Linked DNA regions of Homo sapiens: regions 1, 2, 3, 4, 6 and 7 are each linked to region 5. The links are contacts of gene promoters, found by promoter capture Hi-C in blood cells and fetal thymus (Javierre and others, 2016). All regions are on one chromosome and are shown on one strand. Each heading gives the region's core, a stretch centred on a gene start or on the middle of the fragment in contact. The rest is flanking DNA. Distances are from core to core; before and after follow the strand shown. Region 1 holds the start of IDNK (IDNK gluconokinase). Region 2 has its middle 8.4 kb from the start of NAA35. Region 3 holds the start of TNFSF8 (TNF superfamily member 8). Region 4 overlaps HNRNPK (heterogeneous nuclear ribonucleoprotein K). Region 5 holds the start of MRPL50 (mitochondrial ribosomal protein L50). Region 6 overlaps LOC105376335 (serine/arginine repetitive matrix protein 1-like). Region 7 holds the start of UBQLN1 (ubiquilin 1).

Evidence for each region. The method cuts DNA at HindIII sites, captures the fragments that hold promoters and counts their contacts. A CHiCAGO score of 5 or more calls a contact.
Region 1: a contact is called between the fragment with the promoter of IDNK here and the fragment with the promoter of MRPL50 in region 5, in 4 of 17 cell types (total CD4 T cells, fetal thymus, naive CD8 T cells and 1 more). The highest score is 10.5, in total CD4 T cells.
Region 2: a fragment that was not itself captured here is called in contact with the fragment with the promoter of MRPL50 in region 5 in 1 of 17 cell types (non-activated CD4 T cells); the score reaches 8.7 in non-activated CD4 T cells.
Region 3: a contact is called between the fragment with the promoter of TNFSF8 here and the fragment with the promoter of MRPL50 in region 5, in 1 of 17 cell types (fetal thymus). The highest score is 5.5, in fetal thymus.
Region 4: a fragment that was not itself captured here is called in contact with the fragment with the promoter of MRPL50 in region 5 in 2 of 17 cell types (non-activated CD4 T cells and activated CD4 T cells); the score reaches 9.0 in non-activated CD4 T cells.
Region 6: a fragment that was not itself captured here is called in contact with the fragment with the promoter of MRPL50 in region 5 in 2 of 17 cell types (naive CD8 T cells and activated CD4 T cells); the score reaches 6.6 in naive CD8 T cells.
Region 7: a contact is called between the fragment with the promoter of UBQLN1 here and the fragment with the promoter of MRPL50 in region 5, in 3 of 17 cell types (non-activated CD4 T cells, total B cells and total CD4 T cells). The highest score is 11.0, in non-activated CD4 T cells.

Annotation. Positions count from the first base shown.
Region 1 is chr9:83,621,856-83,624,758 of GRCh38, reverse strand. It overlaps IDNK (IDNK gluconokinase), which reads right to left and starts at 1,616. Exons shown (of 5, transcript NM_001001551.4): 1 at 1,538-1,616. The coding sequence starts at 1,587. RefSeq lists enhancers at 1,012-1,061, 1,082-1,211 and a silencer at 1,392-1,921. The HindIII fragment of the contact is 10,566 bases long and covers 1-2,903 here.
Region 2 is chr9:85,931,100-85,934,355 of GRCh38, reverse strand. No RefSeq gene overlaps it. Among named protein-coding and RNA genes, the nearest start is that of NAA35, 8.4 kb to the left of the region's middle. The HindIII fragment of the contact is 3,789 bases long and covers 1-3,238 here.
Region 3 is chr9:114,928,883-114,932,153 of GRCh38, reverse strand. It overlaps TNFSF8 (TNF superfamily member 8), which reads left to right and starts at 1,563. Exons shown (of 4, transcript NM_001244.4): 1 at 1,563-2,045. The coding sequence starts at 1,851. RefSeq lists an enhancer at 1,910-2,469. The HindIII fragment of the contact is 2,687 bases long and covers 55-2,741 here.
Region 4 is chr9:83,975,968-83,979,169 of GRCh38, reverse strand. It overlaps HNRNPK (heterogeneous nuclear ribonucleoprotein K), which reads left to right. Exons shown (of 17, transcript NM_031263.4): 2 at 718-797; 3 at 891-975; 4 at 1,384-1,481; 5 at 2,119-2,175. The coding sequence starts at 918. Among named protein-coding and RNA genes, the nearest start is that of HNRNPK, 2.6 kb to the left of the region's middle. The HindIII fragment of the contact is 3,362 bases long and covers 9-3,202 here.
Region 5 is chr9:101,396,786-101,399,995 of GRCh38, reverse strand. It overlaps MRPL50 (mitochondrial ribosomal protein L50), which reads left to right and starts at 1,378. Exons shown (of 2, transcript NM_019051.3): 1 at 1,378-1,495. The coding sequence starts at 1,404. It overlaps ZNF189 (zinc finger protein 189), which reads right to left and starts at 1,145. Exons shown (of 3, transcript NM_003452.4): 1 at 807-1,145; 2 at 1-112. The coding sequence starts at 839. RefSeq lists enhancers at 1,145-1,674, 1,207-1,735, 1,736-2,265. The HindIII fragment of the contact is 1,128 bases long and covers 376-1,503 here.
Region 6 is chr9:83,922,854-83,926,044 of GRCh38, reverse strand. It overlaps LOC105376335 (serine/arginine repetitive matrix protein 1-like), which reads right to left. Exons shown (of 3, transcript XM_011519284.2): 3 at 1,160-1,379. The coding sequence ends at 1,243. Among named protein-coding and RNA genes, the nearest start is that of KIF27, 3.0 kb to the right of the region's middle. The HindIII fragment of the contact is 505 bases long and covers 1,043-1,547 here.
Region 7 is chr9:83,706,436-83,709,440 of GRCh38, reverse strand. UBQLN1 (ubiquilin 1) reads left to right here and starts at 1,483. Exons shown (of 11, transcript NM_013438.5): 1 at 1,483-1,941. The coding sequence starts at 1,762. UBQLN1-AS1 (UBQLN1 antisense RNA 1) reads right to left here and starts at 1,606. Exons shown (of 2, transcript NR_135839.1): 1 at 1,129-1,606. RefSeq lists enhancers at 681-1,569, 1,733-1,802, 1,570-2,460. The HindIII fragment of the contact is 7,028 bases long and covers 1-3,005 here.

The sequences.
Region 1 (2,903 bases), core at 367-2,866, about 18 Mb after region 5:
CTGGGCAACAGGAGTGAAGCTCCGCCTCAAACAAAACAAAACAAAAAAAAAACAAAAGAAGCTAAGCCTCAGAACCATTGCACCTGCCATTCCCTCTGCCTGTCCTGCCCTTTCCTCAGCTATCCACATGGCAGGTTCCTCAAGTCTTGCAGGTCTTTGCTGAAACGCCACTCCCCCAGAGGAGACATCCCTGACCACTCTGCCTGGCACTCTTTGTTCCCCTTACTCCAGAGCATCTATCACCAACTCACACACTACATATATTCATTTACTCTGTCTCCCATACCAGAATGTAAATCCTTTGAGGGCAGGGATTTTATCTGTCCTGTTCGCTATATGACAATGACATAGAGTAAGGATTGAGCTCAATAATTACTGAGTACATGAATATCACAAGCTATACATCATAGGGATTAGGCCTCCCTCATCTGATTCAAGACTCAGAGGGGGTACATGAACTGCCCAGGCTCACACAGCCAGACAGCAACAGAACCAAGACCTAGGGCTCTTCACTCCTGTTACATCACACCATGGCAATGATTTTACATTCTCCAACTGATTCAAATCATATGGCAGCTAGGGATTTGGGGGCTCCATGTTTTATTTCAATTGCAGTTCAAGATTTCTTTTTATCTTTGTGGCTGAGAACCCTACAATAATTTTGGAAAGCAAAACCCATCTACCTGGAGTAAATCTTTAATATACACCTGACTACACAGGCCACAACATGGGCCGTTCCTGATTCAGAAAATTCTAGAAGGGTCCTATAGGCCCTTGAAGGTTATGATGTTTTAGCTGATCAAGTTCTGTCCTTTGCTGCCTGTGGTCGAATGGTACAGCAGCTGTCTTTTCTGATAAAGGGCACAGTTAGACTTTGGTTTAAACAGGAAGCCAAATGTTAACTCCTCAGTCTCCAGGTTAGCACACTGGGCTACCTCTGTGGTTTCCACAATTCTCTTCTTTCTTTCCAAACCCTCAGGAGCCACCCTCCATATTAACGCTGTCTCCTTCCAGGTTAAGCTGATGAAAGGAAGGGGAAAACGATTCACTTTCCAAAATTGAATCGGAGAAGTCCAGGGCCTCATAGGAGGAGGCCGCTGTGTGTCCAGATGGCCAAAGGTCTGTGAGAGCCTGGGCCGTGGTTTGCGTCCTCTCGCTAGAGGCCGTGCGCCCTCCCGCCTGGCCCCGACAAGGCGCCCCGAAACCTAGCCCCGCGCCGCTCGCTAGGCCTCCACCTGCGCGGCCCCGCAGCCGCCTGTTCAGGAGCGGCTTCCTCCCTGAGCCTGCGGTCGCCGCAGCCTCCCCGTCTTAGAGCGGGAACCCGGAGCTCGGATGCGGTCCCAGGATGGGCGCCCCGCGAGCAGGCTGGAGGGCGGGGAGAGGGCGCGGCAGCCGCGGGCCTCGGTTTCTTCATCTGCAAAGGGAAGGGTGGGGGGTCCCCAAGACCCCAGTCCACCGGCAGGGACGGCGACGCGTCCGGCCTCCGCCGCGCCCGCAACACTTGTCCCGGGCGCCCCCCGCCCTCTCCCGGACCTACTTCCCCGAGCCGCTCACGCCCATCACCAGCAGCGCGCCCGGCGCCGCCATAACCCAAGCTCGGCTCCTTCCCGTCGCCTTCCGGGCCCCGCCGGCCCCGGCCTACCCGGCGCTCGAGGGGCGGAGCCGCTCTCGCCCCGGCCGGGGCAGTGAGGGCCGTGCCCCTCTGCGCCCTCCCCGTTTTCCCGCGCCCCTTTTCCATGCTTTCCTCCTCCCTTTCCCAACCTCCCGGCCTCTCTCTCCTGCCCCTTCTTTTCCTCTCCCCTCCCCTCCCTCTTTCCTCTTCCCGGAAGTGAAGCGCGCGCCCGGCCTGGCACTCGCGTCTCCCTGGGCTGGAGGGAGCCGCCCAAAGCCCCGCCACCTGTCGTTCTACTGCCCCGGCCCCTCTTGGTTCCAGAGGATCCTCACCCTGGCAGGCCGGATCCTCATCCACCCATGGAAAGCATTCATTCATTCATTTATAAAAATGTTCTTGTAAAAAGAATAAACAGAAAATAAGACTCATAATTTCCCACACCAGGCAGCAATAAGCAGCACTTCCTAAAACGACTCCCCTTTCCCCGCGCCCCGTCGTAGATAGATGGGTATGAGTATTTTGTAAAACTGGGATCAGGCCGTACACAGCGTTTTGTAATCTGGCCTTTTGTCACAATAATAAATGGCGGCCATCTTTTGGTGTCAAACTTAGGGTTGAGTGTTGACCGTAGCAGCATATGTCTTGGCTGTATGGCTCTGCTGTTAAATCCAGCACTGGTTGGGGCTTTAAGAGGAAGGAGCACCACTTTAAAGTGTCCATTTGCTTTAAAACAATGTTAATTATGTGTCGTTTGAACTATTTGATTAAAAGCACTTCTTTTTTTTTTTGAGACGGAGTCTCGCTCTGTCGCCCAGGTGGGACTGCGGACTGCAGTGGCGCAATCTCGGCTCACTGCAAGCTCCGCTTCCCGGGTTCACGCCATTCTCCTGCCTCAGCCTCCCGAGTAGCTGGGACTACAGGCGCCCGCCACCGCGCCCGGCTAATTTTTTTTGTATTTTTAGTAGAGACGGGGTTTCACCTTGTTAGCCAGGATGGTCTCGATCTCCTGACCTCATGATCCACCCGCCTCGGCCTCCCAAAGTGATTAAAAGCACTTCTAACCGCATTTGGCATCACCTCCTTTGGTCTTTTGTTAACCAAGGTAGGTATTACTCTGTGTCCTAGAAAACAATAAAAGTGACATAAAAGCATTTATCTAATGAATAGTTCAATTACCCCTGCACTGCCTTTGTTTTTCATATACTTAGCCCGAGTAGGTGAGATTTCAATCTGGATGGGGGCTGTACAGGTGAAGAAATTGAGGCTTGGAGAGAGGTCTTACAATTCAGTT
Region 2 (3,256 bases), core at 95-2,594, about 15 Mb after region 5:
CTATGATCAGTCTGTGCCTGTCTCTAACCCATTTTTCTATAGGATCATTGATTATTATTATTATTATTATTATTATTATTATTATTATTATTATTTTGGAGACAGAGTTTCGCTCTTGTTGCCCAGGCTGGAGTGTAGTGGTGCGATCTTGGCTCACTGCAACCTCCGCCTCCCAGGTTCAAGCGATTCTCCTGCCTCAGCCTCCCAAATAGCTGGGATTACAGGCACGCACCACCACACCTGGCTACTTTTTTGGGGTTTTTTTGTTTGTTTTTTTTTTTGAGATGGAGTCTCGCTGTGTCGCCCAGGCTGGTGTGCAGTGGCACGATCTCGGCTCACTGCCAGCTCCACCTCCCGGGTTCACGCCATTCTCCTGCCTCAGCCTCCCGAATAGCTGGGACTACAGGTGCCTGCCACCACGCCCAGCTAATTTTTTTGTATTTTTAGTAGATACGGGGTTTCACCGTGTTAGCCAGGATGGTCTCGATCTCCTGACCTCGTGATCTGCCTGCCTCAGCCTCCCAAAGTGCTGGGATTACAGGCGTGAGCCACCACACCTGGCTGATTATTTTCTTTTCTGTTTTTAAGAAGCTGTATATATTAACTCTTGATTGAAGCTGCAGTTTTTGTAAGCCAGTGTGTCATTTGCCCTTTTTACTTTGTTTTGGTATTTGCTATGTGAAACTGTTTTTGGTCCATTTTGCCAATAAAGACATCATTTACAACTAGGGGTATTACAGTGATTTCATTAAAAAAAATGATGCAAAAGAAGTGAGCTTCAAATGGCCTACTGAGGAACCCCAACATTTAGAGGTCAGGTAGAGTAAGAGGACCTAATAAAGGGCTCAGAGTAAACAGCAGAAGAAAAACCAGAAGAGTGTGGTTCACTGAATCTGAGAGAGACGTTAACTCCCAATTATTATCCTAATAATATACATACATAACATAATATTTAATATATGTTTTCCTTTTAAAATTCCTATTCAAATAACTTTTACATTAGTAATTTTCAAGCAGCTTCCTGGGGTCTATCAATATGTGAATTTTTTACTAAAAAAATAACTACTACATTTATAGATTTTTTTACATTTCATCAATGAATTGTCTAATGCATAGATATTGAAATTCTTAAGTTTCTTTCAAAAGGGAAATGAACATAAGACAAATATCAACCAATTGCAGATACAATGTAAAATTAATAAACTTAGGCTGGGTGCAGTTGGCTCACGCCTGTAATCCCAGCACTTTGGGAGGCTGAGGCGGGGAGGATTGCTTGAGCCCAGGAGTTCGAGACCAGCCTGGGCAACCTGGGAAAACCCTGTCTCTACAAACAAACAAACAAAAAAAAAAAAACCCACAAAAATAATTATCCAGGCGTGGTGGCATGTGCCTATAGTCCCTGCTACTTGGGAGGCTGAGGCCAGAGGATCACCTGAGCACAGGAGGTCAAGGCTGCAGTGAGCTGAGATTGCACCACTGCACTCCAGCCTAGGCGACAGTGAAACCCTGCCTCATAAATAAATAAATAAATATAAATTTAAAAGTAGAAAGAATAAATATTGAAAAGACTTATGAATTAGATAAACTTTAGGTCCTATTTGAAATAAACTGTAAACAATTTGAAGCCATTGAATAAATGTGAACACTGACCGGATATTTGATGATATTAAGAAATTAAAATTGGCCAGGCGCAGTGGCTCACGCCTGTAATCCCAACACTTTGGGAAGCCGAGGTGGGTGGATCATGAGGTCAAGAGTTCAAGACCAGCCTGGCCAAGATGGTGAAACCCCATCTCTACTAAAAATACAAAAAATTAGCCGGGAGCGGTAGCAGGCACCTGTAATCCCAGCTACTCAGGAGGCTGAGGCAGGACATCGCTTGAACTCGGAGGGCAGAGGTTGCAGTGAGCCAAGATCGCACCACTGCACTCCAGCCTGGGTGACAGAGTGAGACTCTGTCTCAAAAAAAAAAAAAAAAAATAGAAAAAGACATTAAAATTTTCAGGTGGGATAATGACATTGTAGTAACCTTTTTAAAAAATGTGTGTCTTTCGGAGAGCCATACTGGAATACTTATGAGTGAAAATATATGATGTTTGATATTTGCCTCAGAATCATTCAGTGGGGCTGGGGATGAGTGGATAGAGGGAATAAGATTTGCTGACAATTGTGGAAGATGGTGATGAATATAAGAGTTCATTTTACTACTCTTTCTACTTTTGTACTTATTTAATGTTTTCATAATAAGAGTTTTCAAAACTGGGCACAGTAGCTCACACCTATAATCCCAGCACTTTGGGAGGCTGAGGTGGGGGGATTGACTGAGCCCAGGAATTCAAGACCAGCCTGAGCAACCTAGTGAGATCCTGTCTCTACAAATTTTAAAAGTTAGCTGGGCATGGTGGTGTGGCCTATAGTCCCAGCTACTCAGGAGGCTGAGGCAAGAGGATCCTTGAGCCCAGGAATTCTAGGCAGCAGTGAGCTATGATCACACCCTAGCCTGGGGCACAAAGCAAGACCCTGTCTCAAAAAAAGAAAGAAGTTTTCTAAAAGAGAAAATAATAATCAAATTTCAGTTTCTATTGGCTTTATCTCATTGAAGGAGAAAATAATCATTACTCTGCTGTATTACCATTGTCCCAGAAATACGAGTAACATGAAGCATTGCAACAGGTATGTTGCTGCAAAATCAAACATGTTGGTGTGGAAACTGCAAAGTAAATTGGGGAATTTAAAGTCATCTTTCCTTAAATGTTACATCGAACAGTTACTGTTCAGTGACTTAAATTCTCTTTTAGTGCTTATTATAATTTTATTATATATAATATATTAATATAATATATATTTTATAGCAATATATATATTGCTATAAAACCAATATATGTTTCAACAGAAAAGTTACCCATGCATATCAGCAAAACTATCAGGATCACCCATAATTTCATGCCTAGAAATGACTTTTGTTCATACTGTTTATTTTCCATACATATATCTGCTTTTATTTATTTAAAAAAATTCTCACTATATATGTTTCCCATTCTATTTTTAACTTCAAAATGGATTATATCTTTCACACTAGTGAAAATTATTCTAGACCACTCAGACACAAATATTTTTCTCCCACTCAAGATTTTTTAAAATCTCTCTCATATCTGTGGTTATTTCTCCTTTTGATTTCTGATCTTGTCAGTTTCATTCCCCAACCCCGTGCTCCCCACCATTAGGCTTGTACGAAGCTTATTTAACTCATAAGATT
Region 3 (3,271 bases), core at 314-2,813, about 14 Mb before region 5:
GATGCTCAGAAGTTTTGGTTCTATGCAAGAACAGCAGTGGTAATAATCCAAGCTTGGCTTTAGACACAGGACGTTTCCTTAGGGGCATCTGGGATCTCTGCTGGCTCAAAGTGATGCGCTGCAGACAAAAAGTGAGCAGAAAGGAAAGGAGGTGCTATGCAGAATGAGCTTCTTCCACGGTGATACCAAATGGAGCTTTCAAAGGCCCACATCTGGAGGCAGCAGCTATGCAGTGATTAACATTTTAAACGGTATTTTGAAATGGAGATCATTAGTAACCACAGATGTGATCTGACTCTGTCCCCCAGGTAATCTGTCTATTGTATCTAAATTCCAGACTTAGCCCAGTAGACAGCTTGGGATGTTTAACAGGAATTGTCCAACACCATCCCCAAATCTATTTTTATTCATGGAGTACTCTGACATCATCTCGCTTGGTCTTCCTGATGACTGTAATGCAGATTGGGAACAGAGAAAGCCATAAAGACTTGTATGATGGCCCAAGGCTAAGAAGGGAAAGGGCTGAGACCACACTTCAGGTTTTAGCTTTCAGGTGCAGTGAAGATTGAATGACTTAGCACGAGCTTTCAGCCAGGCAGGCTGCAAAGTGCACCCAAGTTCTTTCAGTGATCGACACTTGCGACTTAGGTTGAGATAGTTTTCATCCTCCCTGAGCCTCAGTTTTCCCATCTGTAAAAAATAAACATTGCCTGCCTCGGAGGGTGGAGGTGGAAGTGGAATGAAGCCACATGTAACTCCTAGCGCTGTGCCTGAGACAGTAGAGGTTCAATTATAGTAGTCACATACACACACAACACATACATACACAAGACACAACACACCACACACAACACATACATACACACCACACACAACACTTACATACGCACCACACTCGGCATGCATTGCAGATCACAAATGCACACCACACACACACTGCATACATATACCATAGAGAACACACAACACCTACACATACCCCCATACCACAAATACACACACACTACATAGTACACCACGCAGAACACACACAGCCCCCATATTCCACACCACACCATCTCACTGCCAATTCCTTCCCCTCTTCATGAGTTTTACGGCAGGTCCAGGTTCATCTGCCAGTTTAACAGATCCCAAAACTTCTGCAGGAGTGTTTGTTCAAAAGATTGATATTTCCAGATTCCTGCTTTCTGACAGTATCTTTGAACCCCAAATTTCATACTGCCATGAGCCAGTCCCCCTTTGGAGAAATATCTCCATTTGTGTGCCCTTTTTCCCCCAGGGAACCTGCAGCATGTCCCTTTTTCAGCAGTAGCCTATCAAACCGAACCCTTTGGAGTTATTACACTGCAGTCCGAGGGATCCGGCCTCCCTGAGACCCAGCAAGGACTCATTATCTGGGGAGGTCTTCTGAGCCACAGGCCTCGCTGAAAGAAGGTGCAGCTTCTTGAACAGGAAGGCGTTTTGTGGCAGAGTCTAAACGAAACAGAAGTTGCTTTGTGTGTGCGCACGCATGCACACACACACACACACACACACACATACACACACACAGTCGGGGAACCGTCATTTTCCTACGCGCCCTCTGACATCAGCCACCTTCTCTGTAGCTAGTTTCTCTGCACACAACTTAATCCCTGGCAATGAAAAATGAACCTCTCCCCCACCCTTGCTGCCGCCTCTCGCCTCACGCCCCCAGAGAAGAGTTTCTCCACCAGGCAGCAGGTGAAGGTTTTTTTCCAAGTCACATGATTCAGGATTCAGGGGGAGAATCCTTCTTGGAACAGAGATGGGCCCAGAACTGAATCAGATGAAGAGAGATAAGGTGTGATGTGGGGAAGACTATATAAAGAATGGACCCAGGGCTGCAGCAAGCACTCAACGGAATGGCCCCTCCTGGAGACACAGCCATGCATGTGCCGGCGGGCTCCGTGGCCAGCCACCTGGGGACCACGAGCCGCAGCTATTTCTATTTGACCACAGCCACTCTGGCTCTGTGCCTTGTCTTCACGGTGGCCACTATTATGGTGTTGGTCGTTCAGAGGACGGTAAGTGGACTCCTCTTCCTCCCTTTCCTTTTCTTGTTGTTTTCCCGAGAGAAAGAGCCCTGGGAACAAATGATATTCGTTTGTTGGTTAAGAGCACAAAATAAAATTAAATAAATAAACTCTCTCTCTCTATATATATATATATACTATAGTATATACTGTATAACGTAATACACTTATGTTACATAATATATATTATATTATACAGTATATATTATATATATATATATATATGAGAAAGGGAGAAAAGAAAGAGGAACTTAACTCTCTAAAATAATTTGGCTTGTTGAGAAAAATATTGTTAGACCATCATCTTAAAACTTTGCAGATCTGTCTGAGCAAAACAGTGGAGGGGAGCTATTGGCCTTTTAAAGTTAAGATTTAAATCTTAATGAGCCAGAGACCCATATCAAGGAAGGAAGCAATAGAGAAACCTGATAACACATTTGCACAAGTTGTTATCATGTCTTCAAGGACTTCAGACTGGATTCTGAGGTTCTATATCCTAAGTCTGAGTGTCCTGGAGGTTTCTGAGGCCTCACCCATTGCCAAGAGTTTTGTTTTTGCTTTTGTTTTATACAAGGAGCTAAGTTTCAGAGGCCAAGGTCTAGAAGGAAAGGAGGCGAAAGAGAAGACCATGGCTTCTTAGAGCTTTGGACATTTTGGTGTTAAAGCCAGCAAGACAAATCGAAAGCTTCCTCTTAAGCCACAACTTTGAAGAAGTTAGGGCGTCACAAAAAAAAAAAAAAAAGAAACAGCACATAGAAGCAGAAAGTTGAAAGGTTTTTAGCACCTGTTCTCTCTGATGTTCCTCACAATACTAAGCAATCGTTGGGTACACACTGTACAGGGTCAGACTGTCTTCGGAGATTTACTTTGAAGTAAATGGTAAGATTTGTTTCTGAAAACAGAAGAGGAGGAGAAAGAGGAAGCTTCTTCATATTTTAGAAAATTGGTGTTTACAGAGAATCTACCAGTATATATTATATAGAAAATGCTGTAGTAATAGCATATATTGCTCATGAATTTTTTGATGAAGTTGTTAATGGGTAATTTAAGAGCTGCACCCACCCACATGACCTGCCAAAGTGAGAATATTTCTGTTTCTTACTTCATAGTGCCTACTTTTCGTGGTATTATAATCCTGCTGAATTTATTCTGGTTTTTCTTCAGTTTTCTTAGGCCAAGTACTCTATAGCTTATCAATTGCTGGAAAGAACTAGGCT
Region 4 (3,202 bases), core at 440-2,939, about 17 Mb after region 5:
GGGAAGCTTAAAAAGGCTGTTTGTAGTCCTATCGACCGTTTTGGCACGTAGACACTTTAGTTTTCGTGTTACAGGCATGATTGTTGTGTTGTACTCCCTTAAGCCTAATTTAAAATAATCCGCTAGTGACTGTTAGTTTTCAAGGGCTCCATTTGTTTCGCTGATTAATAATAGACTGGTATTGTGGTAGTTTGGGTCTGGTCCTATATTAGATTTTTGGATTTATCCCTCCGGTAGATTGTTCTGGTTGTTGGATGTGTTCGCAATTGCCGTTGTATTTGTAAACTTTAGAGATGTCACATAAGATCGCTTCAAGCATGAGTCGAAAGAAATAGGAAAGCAATTGGAAGTTTTAATATAAAATTAGTTTTCCCAGTGAATAAGATGCATTGTAACTTTTCATAAATGTATGCTTTGTGGATGACATTTATCTTTTCAGGGTTTTGGGAATGTGCCGTATAAAACAATTCATTGCTGTGGTGGGACTTAATCCAGTGGCTAAAAGTTATTGTTCTAACTTAGCAAAAAATGAAACCAGGCTCCCTTGAATTTTGTATTTTTTAGGCAGTCATTTGAATTGTGAAACCCTAAAATGAAGAATCAAGTTTTAGAAACAGCTGGTTTTTTGGGTTCAAATCAGTATTCACTGTGATCGGAAACAAATATTCAGTAATAAGAATAAACAAAAGCAAAACTGATTTGTGTTGGTTCTTATAGGCTACTGCAGCACTGGGGTGTCAGTTGTTGGTCCGACCCAGAACGCTTCAGTTCTGCTCTGCAAGGATATATAATAACTGGTACGTTCTAGAAGCAATGTCTTTTTTTTTTTTTTTTTTTTACAGCTTGCTTTCCAATAAGCCAAATGTACTAGCTGCTTTATTTTTCCACAGATTGGTGTGCCCGTTTAATAAAAGAATATGGAAACTGAACAGCCAGAAGAAACCTTCCCTAACACTGAAACCAATGGTGAATTTGGTGAGAAGAAATTTTAGTTTTAACAGTATTTTTTTATCCTGTTAATAAATTGCCTTTTTCTGTTAATTATTGCCTTAGGAGTGTGTGGTGAATTTTTGGTATTACTGTTTATGTAATTCTGCGATTATCAGTAGTTACATCTTAGCTTTTATTTATGAAGTAGAAGTAACTGATTTGCATATAAAGAATTTTTCTTGCATTTTGGGATTTCAAATCCTTTGAAGTATTTTGTGGCAGTATTTTGTGTTTGGTGCATTTTACTAGATGGAAGCATAACGTTCAAGTCTGTAGCAATGCCTTTGGTCTTTTCAAAACATGCCTAAGATTAGCAACAAGTCTCTTGAAACAGAATGGAGTTACTTTGGAGACTTCGCTGCTTTCTTTGAAATGTGAACTGTTAATTTTTAGGTAAACGCCCTGCAGAAGATATGGAAGAGGAACAAGCATTTAAAAGATCTAGAAACACTGATGAGATGGTTGAATTACGCATTCTGCTTCAGAGCAAGGTATAAATTTTATTCTTGAAAATTTGAAGGTGGTTCATACTCAGGTAGAAATTAAGGTCTGGTTTGGCTTTCTAGAAAGTCAAAGTTTTACAGATTGAAGAATATAAAACATTTGGTTCTTTCTAAACAGACTTGAAGGCTCTGGTGGTTTTCTTATTCCACTAACAGTTAAGATTAAAGCCCTTGCTGTAGTGAACCGCCACTACAGGTCAAACTAGGAGGAGAGTGTGATTCTTAAAGTGTTAATAGATTAAATCTTAATTATGTGTGGACTCCTTAGGAAACTGCTTGGTTGGCAGTTTATTGTTTGATCACAGGTCACAATATGAAGGTACCTACTAATACTAAATTAATTGACTTATTTTACCAAAGGGTGCTATAAAATCTGTGCTTAGTTTTATTTTATACTTGGTGTTATTTCTGACATTGAGTACTCCAAACTATCTAGTCCTCACAGCACTTAGAATTATATTTTGATTTTTGGTTTGGTTTTGGCCTGGTCGTTTTTACAACCCCAAATAGATTTTTATTCTTATAACAAACAGGTTAGAGGATTTTTTAGCAAAATCTAAGAGCGTAGGTAGCTATTAATTTTAGGGAAAGGCAAAATAATTTTTTGTCTTTGTATCTTCTCCAGAATGCTGGGGCAGTGATTGGAAAAGGAGGCAAGAATATTAAGGCTCTCCGTACAGACGTAAGTATTAAGAGTTTAAACTACTACACGAGCAGCTTCAGTTTATATGTCTATAGAAATTTAAAGATTTACATCCTAGAAATCATTTCATAGTTTAGCTACAAAGACATTTGTAATAATTTATTATTACAGAATTGATTTCGAAGTTATCCATTCCTGTTTTAACAAAAGCCCAGATTGAGCAGGGTGGGGGGGTGGTTTCTTTCAAACCTCTTCACATTTTAATAAGAGTCCACCAAATTATTCACTTCATCAAGCAAGATAACATCTTAATTAGAAATAGCGACAAAGTGTAAAAATCCTTGATTGCACCATTTCCTGTGTGTGAATCAATTACAGTATTACTGAAAACCATTGCAGGTGGCTGGTTAAATCCAGAAAAATTTTTTTGTTTTCTTTGGGAAGAAAAATGTCCATCTGTTCTTTAACAGCTTGCACATGGAGCACAAAGAATTTAATGTTGAGGTTGCATGATTTAAATATGGGTAAAGAATAGAGTAGGCACTTAATCTTATAATTGGGAAACTGTTCGTCAATGCCTATGATTTGTTTGAGTCTTCATTTTACAGTGGGTTGACTCTTGTGATTAGACACATTAAATGTTGGCAGTGCCAGAAGTGAGCACATTTATAGGACTTGGCTACACCAAAATTTCTAAATTTTTTTTCTCATAGTGTACACATTTCTTAATGTTTTTCTTGCTAAAAATGAGGCAAATAACTTTGTGTCGAGTACTTATTTGACAGTATTTCATTTCTCTCTTGGTCGCAGATCTTTGTATGTTCCTCTTGATTACTGTAAACTGAACTTGAAAATTTGTTTAAAATTTTACAAACTTGCCTGTTAGGATCTAGGAATGCATTTCAAAACCTCCAGAAAACCAAACCAGTCTTATTAGTTAGGGTTTTTGGTGGTGTGGGAATTTTTGTTTTGTCTTTTATAAACCTCTCTCCTCTTAATCCAGATGTTCTGTATAATTATCTGGGTTATTAATTTCCCCATTTCCTCAAGAATTTCAGTAAACTTT
Region 5 (3,210 bases), core at 129-2,628:
TTCCATAATTCTCCATCATGACATCTTTATACAGGCTTCTCTGAGCTGGGTCCAGATAATCCCACTCCTCCTGGGTAAAAAACACAGCCACATCCTCAAATGTCAGCAACCCCTGAAATAGTATGATTTCTGTAGTCAGTTCCTGTTGTCTCAAGGACAATTCTACCACTAAAAGTGACAGAGGCAATCACTTATTGTGGCCAAGTAGGCTAGGAGGAACATGATAACTGAAAGTTCCATATGTTGCCCAATTCTGGGAACGAACTGTAACTGACAGACATCTCAGACTAGAAAGGACCTACGGATAAGGCTTTTCTGATTTATTATGCCCTGAGAGTTTAATTTTAGTAAACTGCCCCAAGGCCTCTCCAAGCTTCCCTCACCTCATTGCCTACTTCAATTTTCCATTTGCACTGGCTTGTGACTCTATTCAATTCAATTCCTTGAGGTTCTCTAAGCGTGTACCTTGGGGTCCAGGCACTGTGCCAGGAACAGAAGACACAAGGGAAGGTCAAAAATGGTGCTTCACCTGGAGAACTCACAAATGAGAGAGCTAGTCTGGAGCATTACTTATTTTCTCAGGCCGATTTATCAAGTCTCTCTAGAAAAAGAAAAAAAAAAAGGGAGCCAGTGGGCAGTTTGTTCGCGAACCGCACCCCAATGCACTAGTGGGGAGTTCCTTGCAAGGCGCTGGCCCTAAAGAGGCGGTCAGGAGGTTGGTGGGGGGCCTGGGGGAGAAAGCAGTGGTGCGGCCTAGCTGGGGTAGCGGCGAGACAACCGGGATCCCCGGGGGGGTGCTTACTTACCTTCGACTCCGGCGGGGGGCTCGGGGAAGCCATCTCCCAGGCAGAGAATAGGGGCAGGAATTGGGGGCGGCCTCACGGAAAGGAGCCTCTGGTGAGGCCTACCCGGCTGCTGGAAATTAGGCTCGACGAATACGAGGATCCCTGGCTGGGTCTGGCCAGTGCCTGCCTCGGCCCCCAGACGGTCACGACCCCAACAGCATATCAGACGCGATCCCTGGCTGTCCCCCAACCCCGAACCCCAACCCCTACTCCTGCCTGGTTACGCAGCCTTTCAGGCCTCGCTAGAGCCTCCTCCCCGCTGCCAGTTCCTCCTCCTTGCAGCCAAGTAACGCTATGACCGCCCGCCCCCGGACCAGAAGGCGTCACCCAGATTCTTCCCGAGGCCCCCTCAACTACAACTCCCGTCATGCTCGGAAAGAGCGCCGCGGTCCAGACGCCGCCAGCAACAGCTACTGGACTACATTTCCCAGCGTGCAAAGGGCGAGGGAGCCTACAGGAAAAAGAAAGCTCTTGCCACTGGGATTGTATCCGATTGGCTGGTCTGGGCGCGTCACTGCTGGCTGAAGGCTGCGCTCAGGCCCGTGGATCTCATCGAAGATGGCGGCGCGATCTGTGTCGGGCATTACCAGAAGAGTCTTCATGTGGACAGTCTCAGGGACACCATGTAGAGAATTTTGGTCTCGATTCAGGTAAAGCTTTATGGTGGACGGTGGGTCATGTTCAAGGAAAGTTAAGGAGGATTAGGGACGAATTCAAAATAGAGTGTTACGCCATCGTGGTCCCGCGCCTGATCAGAGCAAGGACAAGGAGGTCCGGTTAGGGTCCCGAGTTGAGAAGCACTCATTGAGTGGTGGGACCCAGTCTCTTCCACTCTCGGCCTTAGTTTTCTCATTTTATAACGGAAATACCACCCCCTTTCCTTTTCACTTCACTCATTCATTTATTTATTAAGCAAGCAGGATTAACCTCGTGTGCGAGACACCGAGTGTGTTGTCTGCAAACACATGAAAGCGCTTGGTAAACTAAACTCATTTGCCGGCTGTGTTTCTTCACAAGCAAGGTTCAGTAATGAAGTACTGCCTCCTCCTTTTGTTTGTTCATTCATTCAGTCATTCAACAGATTTCTTAGGGCCAGCATTACTCTAAGCGCCTAGGATACAGCAGGAAAAACAAAATCCATTCTCATCCTCGAGGTACTCCAACATATGAGGAAACAGGCCCACAGGAGGGAAGTGATTTTCCCAAAGTCACAAAGCAAGTTAATTGCAAAGCTGGATCTAGAACATATGTCTCCTAACTCCCCATCTACTGCTTTTTCTGCTGCACGGCTGCACCATGTGTAATTGTTTGAAGGTAAATCTAATTTGACTTAGATAGTGTTTAGGAAATCAAAACGTATGGTAGGAACCCTAGGGAGCAATGTATGCTCTCTTAGGTTTAAAACAAAAACCACTACAATTAGGAAAGATCTTTTTCATCAGTTCAGATATTAGCTTTCCCTCTTCTTTGGTCAATATTTGTTATTATCTCTCAAATCTCTTCCAAGTTTGTTTTATTCATTCACTCAACAAATATTTTTTAGGCTGTTTACTATATGCCAGGCTATATCTTAGGTGTTGTAAGAATACAGTGGTTACTAAAACAGACCAAATTTTTGTTCTCGTAGGGCATATGTTCTAATGGAGGAAGAAATGAACAAATGTGTAATGTAATTTCAGAAAGTGGTAAATTATGAAGAAAACTAGAGGAAATAGATTACTGAGAATGATGATTATATTTTCTTTACTATTTTAAAAATTTTATATATTTAAGATATACAACTTGATGTTGATTATTAGTCAAGATAATTATCATATTCATCTCTTCACATACTTTCTGTTTTGTTTTGTTTTAGAGAAAGGAGTTCTCACTATGTTGCACAGGCTGGTCTTGAACTCCTGGACTCAAGTAATTTTCCCACCTTGGCCTCCCAAATTGCTGGGATTCCAGGGGTGAGCCACCACACCTGGCCAGTTAGAATTTTTGTGTGTGTGGTGAAAACACTTAAGATTTACTCTCAGAAGATTTCAAGTATACAGTACAGTATTATTAATGATCGTCACCATGGTGTACATTAGATCTCTGGAACTTATTCATTCTACATAATTTAAATTTTACCTTTGTCCAACGTCTCTTCATTTCCGCCACCCCTGGTAGCCACCATCCTACTCTCTGTTTCTATGAATTTGACTTTTTTTTTGTTTGTGTTGGAGATGGAGTCTCACTCTGTCTCCAGGCTGGAGTGCAGTGGCGCTATCTTGGCTCACTGCAACCTCCGCCTCCCAGGTTCAAGCGATTCTCCTGCCTCAGCCTCCCGAGTAGCTGGGACTACAGGTGCCCGCCACCACGCCCGGCTAATTTTTTT
Region 6 (3,191 bases), core at 46-2,545, about 17 Mb after region 5:
CAAGTGATTCTCCTGCCTCAGCCTCCCGAGTAGCTGGGATTACAGGCTCGTGCCACCACACCCAGCTAATTTTTGTATTTTTATTTTTATTATTTTATTTATTTTTTTTTGAGACGGACTCTCGCTCTGTTTCCCAGGCTGGAGTGCAGTGGCATGATTTTGGCTCACTGCAACCTCTGCCTCCCGGTTTCAAGTGATTCTTCTGCCTCAGCCTCCCGAGTAGCTGGGACTACAGGCACGCACCACCACACCCGGCTAATTTTTGTATTTTTAGTAGAGAGGGGTTTCACCATGTTGGCCAGGCTGGTCTCGAACTCCTGACCTCAAGTGATCCACCTGCCTTGGCCTCCCAAAGTGCTGGGATTACAGGCATGAGCCACTGTGCCTGGCCTTGTTTTCATTTATACACATACCTGTGTATTGAGTCATGATGTCAAGGGAATTTCTGATAGTGGCTCAGTATCAATCAAATTCGAAAGCCAGTGTCCTGGGCTTGCTTTTCAGATTGGGGTGATGGATTATTTCCTAGTCTTCCAAGGTTCCCCTCATGATTGGTGGAGATTGTGGTTGCCCAATTTGACCATAGGGCCAAGCAAATCCACCTGGCACCAGTTGACAGGACCCAAGCAGTATGTTTCCTTAGGAAAGCTAACATTCTCTGCACTAAGTTAAGGAGCCAAAGGCAAAATGATGGCACAGAAACCACCCCTCCCCCTTTTTTTTTCTCAGACGGAGTCTCACTCTGTCACCCAGGCTGGAGTGCAATGGCATGGTCTCGGGTCACTGCAATCTCCGCCTCCTGGGTTCAAGCGATTCTCCCACCTCAGCCTCCTGAGTAGCTGGGACTACAGGGCCATGCCACCATGCCCGGCTAATTTTTGTATTTTTAGCAGAGACGGGGTTTCACTATGTTGGCCAGGCTGGTCTCGAACTCCTGACCTCATGATCCGCCCGCCTCAGCCTCCCAAAGTGCTGGGATTACAGGCGTGCACCACCGCCCACCCCCATTTTTAAAGAAACCCCATTTTTAAAGTATAAAGCTTCTTTTCTCCCCGCCAGAGAAATTAAGGGAATTCATCAAACATTATAGCAACATTAAAAGAATTTAAAGTGGGAGAAGAGGTATGATCTGTGGTTTCCTTAATACTTCCTTTAATACTTCCTTTCTTTCCTGGATCCAGCTTTTCTCAAAATATGGGTGAGGGAAGATGATTTAGGCGAAAAGGGCACATATTTCTTTATTTAATTTGGTCTAGCTGTAATCTTCTGTTTGTTACTGCTTTTCTGGTAAAGTGGACTGGGCATGGATGTTTTTCTCTGTAGGACAAGCAGCCCAAAGCTGGTCTCCCATGGGACATATGCAGAGTTCTTCAGTGGACCTGAAAGATACAGTTCCCTTAAGGAGAAGACCTAGTTCCCTTAAGAAGATCCAGCACTGGCTCAATTACTTCTGCTAATCCCAAGCCCAGCTCCTCCCACTGCCTCTTACTGATGGGGACTTATCTGCAGGAGACAGTCCTCAAGACAATCTTCATGGGGCTCAAGCTTGGGTACCCTCCAAAGGATCCCCTGGACCATGAGCAAATCACAGCTTCTCCCCCTGCTAAACTGCAGGAACACAGACTGCTCTACTACAGCAACATCTCAGTTGCTTCGCTCCATTCTTGAGAAGAAGATCAGCTCACTTCTTCCCCTAGTTGCTCCCACCAGAAGGCCAGGTTTCCTCTTCTAGCACATCACACAGGGTTTGCCCGTCACTCTTAGAGCCTCCTTTGACTTAGGTGGGAGGCCTCTTACTCTCCAACCCACAAGGCCCAAGACCCCTTGACTCCACTGCCGAGTCTTTCTTACAGATACTTAAAAAAGAGATAGGATTGGAATTTGAATGGAATTAGCTTAGTCCTGCTATAAATCCTAGGGAGGAGGGGTTGGCAATGACTGGCATTCACTTCACAGTGTGGGGAACTTAAGTAACTCCTTTTCTCTAACTCTGGACTCAAGACATCAATTTGGGGACAATGGAAAATGCCCCATTCTAATGCTGTTGGGCATTTGCTGACCTCCTCTCTGCAATTGTGTGGCCTCTTGAGAACTTCTGTTGAGACTTCTGGGTATTCCTAGACTTAAATTGTTACGTACTATTAATTATTGAAGTTTTGTCAGCAGACCAGTCTGACTTACCAATTCACAGTCATGATGTGAGTTTTTGTTTGTTTTCAAAGAGTTCTAAAAATGCAACTTGGCCCTATAGTCAAATTGGGCAACCACAATCTCCACCAATCATGAGGGGAACCTTGGAAGACTAGGAAATAATCCATCACCCCAATCTGAAAAGCAAGCCCAGGACACTGGCTTTCGCATTTGATTGATACTGAGCCACTATCAGACATTCCCTTGACATCATGACTCAATACACAGGTATGTGTATAAATGAAATCTTAGAATTTTAAAAATTATGTATTATTTATTATTTTTTTGAGGTAGAGTCTCATTCTGTCACCCAGGCTGCAATGCCATGGTGCAACAACAGCTCACTGCAGCCTTGACCTCCCAGGCTCAAACCATTCTCTCACCTCCACCTCCAGAGTAACTGGAACTGCAGGCATACTCAGCCACACCTGGCTAAGTTTTGATTTTTTGTAGGGATGGGGGGTCTCATTATGTTGCCCAGGCTGGTCTCAAACTCCTGGGCTCAAGTGACCCTCCCAGTTCAGCCTCCCAAAGTGCTGAGATTACAGGTGTGAGCCACTGTGCCCAGACTGAATTTTTAAAATTTTAAATAATTCAGTTAAAAGAAAAAAAAATAAAAACTATAAATAAAATAGTCAGCTTTTTTCCCCCACCTTCATTCCTATATTTCATGAGAGAAGGAAGGGTTTTTGAAGATGCTTAGATTGTGCTACTAAAAACAGGAGGCATTAAAGCATTTAAAACTAAATTGGTAAAGTTAAATATTACCATACGACCCAGCAATTCCACTCTTACGTCCATACCTAAAAGACCTGAAAACAGGCTCGGCGCGGTGGCTCACGCCTATAATCCCAGCACTTTGGGAGGCCAAGGTGGGCGGATCACCTGAGGTCGGGAGTTCGAGCCCAGCCTGACCAACATGGTGAAACCCCGTCTCTACTAAAAATACAGAAAACTTAGCCAGGCGTGGTGGTGGCACATGCCTGTAATCCCAGCTACTC
Region 7 (3,005 bases), core at 234-2,733, about 18 Mb after region 5:
AAAGCATGCAGGTAAGACACAGCATGACAGGGAAAAACAGGTAATGAGGAGCTAATGAAGTTGAGGAGAAATTTTATTTAGACATATGGAAGAAATTCCAAATGATTGGTTGTCCAGTTGTGGCACTTTCTAGCTTTAGAAGCAGTGATCATCTCACACCTGGACATAACCAAGTAGTCATCCTTCATTAAGCAGAAGGCCTTGTTATTGAGCCATGCTGCCAGAAATTTAGGTGATATCAAATGATGTCTATACTGAAATCGATACCCTCAGGATTCTCTTAGACCCAGATTCCATAGAGCTCTGCTAAAAAGTCGTGTTTATGTAACAGTATTTATTCTCAGAACAGGGTTGGACGGCTTAGGAGCAGAAAGGCAGAATGTATCTTTGCGGATTTGGGTCATAGTGGGCTGTCAGGATTTAAATTGTGCAACATTGATTAATAATGGGCTGGTTTGTACATTCCTTGCAAGTCATCTTTAAAAGCCAATGACGTCATTTCAAATTAGGATTCTCAGAGATAATTTCTCTCTGTATTACACTGAAAATAATTTTGGAACTATCCTTAATGCCACTTAAAGCCTGAAATTGACCAGTAACTTAATTTGATAGAATATAAGGCGAACACCTCAACTATATTAAATTGTCCCATTTGGGTGGACACTCCTCGGGCACCCTGTTCCGCCCTACACACAGATAATCTGGGGGCGCTCGCGCACAGCTGTCATCGTAGCAGCAGAGGCCACTGTCAATACAGGTTGCCTGACTGATCGTCTGACCAAACCGGGCTAACCCGAGGGCGGTAAATAAGCTCTGGCCATGAAGCAATGACTCCGCAGGATTGCGCAGGGCAGTCACGGGCGTTCACTCCATTTTCTGTTCGTTGTGCTGAGGCCTTTCCACCATTAACTTACCCCAACTCCCCCGCATAGGGCAATACGACCCCTCCAAATATCAAACGCTAAGCATATTAAAATAACAAAATACCTCGCCGCTATTTTATCACCAGACCCTCCTCCCAGCGGGGAACGCAGAGTAGACAGAGAGGCAAGGGAGGGCAAGGCGATTGTGACAGCGCGGAGGGGTGAACACGGCCCAGCTGGGCATGAGGTAAGGTGGGGAGACTACCTGGACAGCAAGCGCGCAGGCGCAGCCGCGGCCGCAGGGCCCACTGGTCCCTTTCTAGTAATTTCGCTAACCGTGACGTCATCTCGGTGCGCCGTTACAGCGCTTAACTGGAAACTGCGATTTAGTTTTTGGTGAAAGGAGTGGAAAAAAACCATGAACTGACCTACCCCGCCCCATTTTGCTTTTAGTCCTTCACACTGGCTTCGCCTGCACTTTGGGCAATGGAGCGGGAAAGGAAAAGGCACGCAGGCTGAGCTCAAAGTCGCGCCAGCCGGGGATGACTCGGCGACGCCGCCAGGCGCGTTACCCGGCGTGCTCCGCGCGGCGCCGGCGAAGGGACGTGGGGGAAGGGGCAGGGAGGAGGAAGCGGTGGCTGCTGCGGATGTCGGTGTGAGCGAGCGGCGCCTGAACACACGGCGGCTGCCGAGCGCCTGACCCGGGCCTGCGCCAGAGCCTGCACCGAGCTCCGGGGCCCCACACCCGCTACGGTGGCCCTGCGCCCGTTGCTACTGAGGCGGCGTGCTCTGCATTCTTCGCTGTCCAGGCCTGCCGGCTCTGGTGTCTGCTGGCTCCTCCTTGCTCGCCTGCTCCCTCCTGCTTGCCTGAGTCACCGCCGCCGCCGCCGCCACAGCCATGGCCGAGAGTGGTGAAAGCGGCGGTCCTCCGGGCTCCCAGGATAGCGCCGCCGGAGCCGAAGGTGCTGGCGCCCCCGCGGCCGCTGCCTCCGCGGAGCCCAAAATCATGAAAGTCACCGTGAAGACCCCGAAGGAAAAGGAGGAATTCGCCGTGCCCGAGAATAGCTCCGTCCAGCAGGTGAGGCCGCCTGGGGCTCGGGCCGGGATGGGGGTGGCGGCAGGACCTCCGCCCGCCGCCCCAGGAGACCTTTTGGAAGGGCCTGGGAGAGGGGTCGTCCTCGGCCATTCTCCCGGGCGTCGTCCCAAATTAGATCACACCCAAGTTCGTGGGTTTGCGCCTTGGGACACCGCAATGGTTTGTGGCGTGGCGGCGCGGCCTGTTTGTGGGACGGGCTGATGCCGCTTTTCTCGGAGCCTTCCTTCTCTGGTATCCGCCGACCCTCAGCCTCCTCCCCCAGTTCCCCGCCCTCCGTCGCCTCCCCTCCAACTCCTCACAAAGGAAAGGGACCCACCGCCAGCCTCCGGGCGGGGTGGAGGCTGGGCGGGGGCGAGGGTTCGCTTTAGCTCAGGCTGCGGTTTTGTTTCATGAATTAAAAAGGGGTGGGTGGGATCCTCGTTGTTTTACGTGCCTGCTTGTTAAGGTGGGTTTTGGGGTGAGGTGCATGTGTATATTTAGTTCTGCATTTTAACTCCTGAAATCTTTCCCACCTTGCAACCTTTAAAAAAAAATTATGACGTAGAAACTGTTTTTAGCTCCATCTTAAGTAATAGTGATAGTACTAGGTTTAAGGAGAAAAGTGAATGACTTTCTTTCACTGATGACTTGCTCTTTCCCTTTTAGTATGTTTATCATCTCTTAGATGCCAATCATTGGGTAGGTTTTTGTTTGATTTTAGAGGGGCGATAGCGATGTTGATATTAGCGGTTGCAATCAAATAAAAGAAAATCGGAGTGAATGCAGAATATTACTTAAACTTGGTTCAGGAATACAAATCTTGCAGTTAATTAAGATTCTTGGTGGAATTTAACAAATAATTTTAGTGTATTGTTGAATACGTCGTGTTTTCCATAATTACTGACTTAATCTCTGAAGATCGCAAACAACGTGAACAGTTGGTGACAGGAAACAACAATTCCTGAAATGTACCTATCAGTTTCCCCAGGGACAGTAGGTGATTGGGGTATTGGTTTAACGAGTTCCAAAGGTAGTGTATTTTGTGAAGCAGTGAGGTGTGTAACATC